Regions from separate parts of the Homo sapiens genome. Here region 1 is linked to region 2. The links are contacts of gene promoters, found by promoter capture Hi-C in blood cells and fetal thymus (Javierre and others, 2016). All regions are on one chromosome and are shown on one strand. The core of a region is centred on a gene start or on the middle of the fragment in contact, and the rest is flanking DNA. Distances in the headings are between cores, read along the strand shown.

Region 1 (2,872 bases), core at 69-2,568, 570 kb before region 2:
GGGGTTGGCAGTTAACTAGATCTTAAGGATCTTGAAAAGTCAGACAAAGGGAGATGCATTTTATCCAAGGTTCCTAAGGAGCCATGGAGGTGTTTGAGCAGATGAGAGACATGGTCAGTACTGAGCTTGGACACTGGACTCTATGGGACTCTATGGAAGATTGACTGTCATGTAGACACAGCATGCAAGGATGCCAGGGAGAGGAGGTCTGAGTTTGGTGGAGAAAATGGGGCAGATTTGGGAGAAACTGAGTAATAATAGGCAGGAGCAGATGTTTTATAAGACAGAGAGAGGAGATGCCCATGATGGCCAAGCTGTGCCCTGGGGACCTGGGGCAGGAGGCAGCTCACAGAGAGTGGGAGGCAGAGAGTGAAGTGCGCTTGCAGGACACCCCTTTCTGCATGGAATGTGGTCCTGGGATTCTGGCTGGAAGGTGCTCCCAGGCTTTCATGTGGGTAAGGAGCTGCTTCCTCTCTCTGGACTGGCCCTGCAGGAAGCCCAGTGAATATATTACTGCGATCATGGAGCTCAGTGCCCTTGTAGTGAAACGGAATAACCAGTTCTTCCGGTACAAGGACTTCCTGTACTTCCTCACTCCCTGTGGACGGCGCTTCCACAGGGCCTGCAGACTGGTGCACGACTTCACAGATGCCGTCATCCAGGAGCGGCGCCGCACCCTCACTAGCCAGGGTGTTGATGACTTCCTCCAAGCCAAGGCCAAGTCCAAGACTTTGGACTTTATTGATGTGCTCCTGCTGAGCGAGGTGGGCCTCTCTGGGATCTGAATTCAAGAGGTAAAATGGAGCTTCAGGTCAAATGTCAGATTGAAGGACCGGACTTGATACAGAGGGCACTAAGGAGCCATGGAAGGTGCTCGAAGAAGGGAGGGACAAGTCAGATAAATTTTAGAGGTGATTGCATAGAAAGCTTCCTGGGAAGAACAAACAGGAGGTCGGAAGGAAGCATGTGGGGGTAGATCTGGAGGTGACAAGGGAGGGATCCTTCTGGGATAATGGGTCTTCAGAGACTGTTTCAGTTTAGACTCCAGTGACCCCAGAACTAGTGTGATTGGGGTTCTTGTCTCCAGGATAAAAATGGTAAAGAGTTGTCAGATGAGGACATAAGAGCAGAAGCTGACACTTTCATGTTTGGAGGTGAGTGTCCCAGTCTGGGGCTACAGTGGGGACAGGGGTCTCTCCACTCCAGGGAAGTGGAGGGCCGGCCCTGAATCACTTCATTCTGCCCAACCTCCCCCTCCCCTCAACCTTCCTGAGAGCCTCAATGTATGGGCGCTGTCCACCCTCTGGGTGCTGAAGCAGCCCAGAGACTCAAGCCTGCCTGGCTGACCCTCAGGCCATGACACCACGGCCAGTGGCCTCTCCTGGGTCTTGTACAACCTCGCGAGGCACCCAGAATACCAAGAACGCTGCCGGCAGGAGGTGCAAGAGCTTCTGAAGGACCGTGAGCCTAAAGAGATTGAATGGTGAGTGCAGGTGCTGGTGGCTCTGCCTTTCTGCCTTTCTGAGTCCTTCTCGTTGGTTCTTCTCCCCAGGTGGGGGAAAAGGGGAGGATCTTTTTGATGATTCTGCCATTGTTGCCTAGTGGGAATAGGAGTAGAGCCCAGAAACAGGCTAGCAAGGGTAACATTGCATGCTTTGGGGACAGAATGGTCTGGGAGTCCATATTTATTTCCCCACTAACTTGCTATGCAAGCTTAGTAAAATCAATTCCCTTTTCTGAACAACTTTTCTCCTTTGTAAATTGGGGGTGTGGGGAATTGCTGTCCCACAGGGCTGCTTGGAGAATTAACGGCAAATACCGCAATGACTTTTGGACCAATCTAATATTATGATTTATCAAAACATTCTCTTATCAACGCGTGTTTTTATACTTTCCAGCCTTTTGGTATAAAAGACATGATGTGTTGAATATCGGTGTACGATGATCATTGCTGACATGTCATCTTTGTAGAGCAGATTCCTAGAAGTGCAACTGCTGAGCCAAAGACCATTTGAGTTTTACAATTCAATAGCTCTTGGGAAATCTACTGCTATACACAGATTTTGAGAATACCAAATTTCCTCATAACCTCCCCAGAAGTGCCTATTATGAAACTAAAACATTTGCCAATCTGATAGATGCAATATAATATTTTGTTATTTTAATGAACATAACTTTAAATGTGGGTAAAGTTGAGCACTGTTTTCACCTGCCGATGAGCCATCCATATCTATTTTTCTGTGAAGTCAGTTTTTGCGTAATTTGTTTTTTCTACTTTGGGTCGTACTAGTTTTCTTATTTACTTATAAAAACTCTTTACATATTAAGAAAATTATTTCTTTTTTCTGTTATGCAAAATGTTGCCTCGCATTGTCTTGGACTTTATTTTTATTTTTGGTTCATTTATTTGTCACCAAATTTATTAATTTTTTCTTTTATAATTCCTGTTTGTGTTTCTTAAAAAAATATTTAAAAACCATTTTATACTCTAATAGTAAAATGCAAAACTCTTGTTTGACTTATTTTAATAGGCTTATATATTTTTAAAAGTTTAACATTTTATCAATATTTTTCACATTTAGAAATTTTTCCCTTTGAAATCTATGTTGGAATCTATTTTTTCTCCAAATGTCTAATTGTCCCAACCAAGTTTAATGAATATTTTGTCCTTGTGTCATGATTCTAAATAACAACAAATTCACAAGAAACTATGTGTGTGTATATATATATATATAGTGTATATATATAGTGTATATATATATAGTGTTTGTGTATATATATATACACACACACATACTATATATAGTGTATACACTATATATATATGTATTTTAAGGCAACAAATAAAACCATATATATATATGCCTATCTT
Region 2 (2,786 bases), core at 46-2,545:
ATCCCAGCCTTTGTATAAGGGCACTGGCTCTCTTATCTTTTAATATTTAACTTAACCCTTGTAATCCCAGCACTTTGGGAGGCCGAGGTGGGTGGATCACGTGAGGTCAGGAGTTTGAGACAAGCCTGGCCAACATGGTGAAACCACGTCTCTACTAAAAATACAAAAATTAGCTAGGTGTGGTGGCACATGCCTGTAATCCCAGCCACTTGAGAGGCTGACACACAAGAGAATCACTTGAACCCAGGAGGCAGAGGTTGCAGTGAGCCGAGATCATGCCATTGCACTCCAGCCTGGGTGACAGAGTGAGACTCCATCTCAAAAAAAAAAAAAAAAAAAAAAGCAAACAACAAAAACCCTCTCTTGGCTGCTTGCTCTGTGCCTTGAGCAAGAATCCTTCCAGCCCAGGAGTCACTTAGCAGTCTTCAAACATTCTAGTTTGCTTCTCTAGAGTTTCGGTCACATTTCTTTCCTAAGCAAAACACTATATAATTACCGAGTTGCAAAAATCATCTTTCCAAACGCCAAAACGGAGATAAGACAGAAAATAAAAGATGTGAGAGGCAGGCATCCTGGGTAAATCACTCTGGTATTGCAGGGTTGGGATCCCCAGGGTACTATGATGGCTAACTGGAACAGAATGCAGGCATTTCTCCAAAGCCCAAGAGTTCATAAAAGCAAATTAAATATGACTCAATGGATTAATCAAGGGCCACCAGTTGCATTACTGATTACTAACTTTGCAGAAATGAAACACGGTATGTTGGGTCAAGGTTCAGTGAGGCTGGTTTTCATAACATTCCAGGCAATAAACAGGCACACTCATTCATTGATAAATGTTGACAATGACAGGTGGTGACTGTTGATAAGGTTTGATTGCCATTCAGAAAGTTTGTTTGACCTCTTTCCAAGTAACCACGACCTTACCTCTCTCTTTTGAGCTTATCACAATTGGTGACTGTACACTTGTTTCATAGACTTCCCCACCAGACTGTGAGCTCCATAGGGCTGGGCCCCAGGTCGGTTTCACCACCAGGCTCTCTCGCCTAACTCGGCCCACGGGAGGCCGTTTCCAGCTGCTCTGGCTCCATAGCTCAGCCTGGCAGCGGCCACTGGGTGCCCTGATTTGGTCGGCCCCGCCCCACCGGGCCTTACTTCCGGGATGCTTCTGGCGGGAGCAAGAAACATGGTTACATACGACGTAATGCGCCTGCGCACAGTCCGTCCTGCGCCTGCGCATTCCTGACAGCACCTCCCGGACCGGACATAACGGTCCCCGCGCGGCTCCCCGAACCGGAAGTGGAGGTGAGCTGTCGCGGGCGGCGCCCGGCCTTGCTCAACGCCCAGCAGTCCCCACCGTCGCTGCCGCCGCCACCGCCCTCGGCCGCTGCCGAGGCCTCCTGCAGCCATCATGTCCGCCAGCGCCGTCTACGTGCTGGACCTGAAGGGCAAGGTACTGAGGGCTCCCCACCCTCCCTGTTGCCAGGCAACCGGCAGGGGCCTCCGCCCGCGGGGACCCACCCTGTTGCTAGGTAACCGGCTTATGAGCCCCATCCTGGTGTGAGGCAGAGAGGCCGGTAGACCTCACCTGAGAGCCCCATCCTGTTTCTGGGTAACCGGGCGGGGGTCTTAAGTGGGTAATCCCCGCCCTGTTGCTACGTAACGCGGTGGGCTGCAGCCACCGCGTTGCCAGGTAACTGACTGCACCGCCCTCTGCTCCCCGGCGCCGGGGCCGGGGGCTCGGGCCTCGGTGGAGGACCCAGAAGCGGGGCCGCAGCCGGCCTCGGAGCCAGGCAGGGCGTCCAGGGGCTGCGCGACCCTTGGCCGGGGGTGGCGAGGCGTGGCGGGGACTGGGTGCTCTCGAGCCAGTCCCGCCTTCTCAGGGCGTTACAGCTTCTGTTTATCGTGCACTTTCTCTCAGTAGGAATTTCTCCACGTTCATTGTGATAGTGAGTTACAAGGATTAGGTGAGGTGAGTGGTGATCACGAGTGCCGTTTTATAGAGGGAGAAACTGAGGCATGGAGAGGTGAAGCAACCTGACCAAGGTCACAATGGTCACAGAGAAGTAGCAAGTCTAGGAGTCCGATCCAGAATCATTCGTTTATTCAGCTGATATCTGGGGAGCACCTACTAATGCCGGGCAGGGTACTAAGCCTGGGGTCGATTTGTGTTTAGCAAAAAACAGTCCCTTTTTTTTTGTTTTGTTTTTGAGATAGTGTCATGCTCAGTCGTCCAGTCTGGAGTGTAGTGGTGCAATCTCCACTCACTGCAACCTCCGCCTCCCGGGTTCAAGCAATTTTCCTGCCTCAGCCTCCCAAGTAGCTGGGATTACAGGCACCTGCCACTACGCCGAGCTAAATTTTGTATTTTTAGTAGAGGCAGGGTTTCACCATGTTGACCAGGCTGGTCTCGAACTCTTGACCTCGAGTGATCCACCTGTCTTAGCCTCCCAAAGTGCTGGGATTACAGGTGTGAGTCATGTGCCAGGGCTCAACAATCTGTGTTCTTACGGTGTTCACAGGCTGGTAGGGGAGATGGATACCCATCTCCAAAAACACAAATAAATGTCAATTGCAGTGGTGTTGAGGGGCGAGTGTGTTATACAGACAGTCAGCCTCAGCCCGAGGATGAGAGAGGGTTTCCCTGAGGAGGGGTGACAAATGGACCAGAGACACCAGGGAGCTGGACATAAACTAGAACCCAGGCATCTTCCCCAGAGGATCTGAGAAAACTTTAAGAAGGGATTGTCCCCACCTTTTAGAAATGGTCCTCTGCCTTCTCCTAA

What was found. Contacts are between HindIII fragments. The CHiCAGO score rates a contact against its expected background, and 5 or more counts as called.
Region 1: a fragment that was not itself captured here is called in contact with the fragment with the promoter of AP1M1 in region 2 in 1 of 17 cell types (fetal thymus); the score reaches 5.1 in fetal thymus.

The regions. Positions count from the first base shown.
Region 1 is chr19:15,622,612-15,625,483 of GRCh38, forward strand. CYP4F8 (cytochrome P450 family 4 subfamily F member 8) reads left to right here. Exons shown (of 13, transcript NM_007253.4): 7 at 494-764; 8 at 1,088-1,154; 9 at 1,354-1,483. Among named protein-coding and RNA genes, the nearest start is that of CYP4F8, 8.8 kb to the left of the region's middle. The HindIII fragment of the contact is 786 bases long and covers 926-1,711 here.
Region 2 is chr19:16,196,616-16,199,401 of GRCh38, forward strand. AP1M1 (adaptor related protein complex 1 subunit mu 1) reads left to right here and starts at 1,296. Exons shown (of 12, transcript NM_032493.4): 1 at 1,296-1,453. The coding sequence starts at 1,412. RefSeq lists a silencer at 1,440-1,679. The HindIII fragment of the contact is 4,202 bases long and covers 1-2,786 here.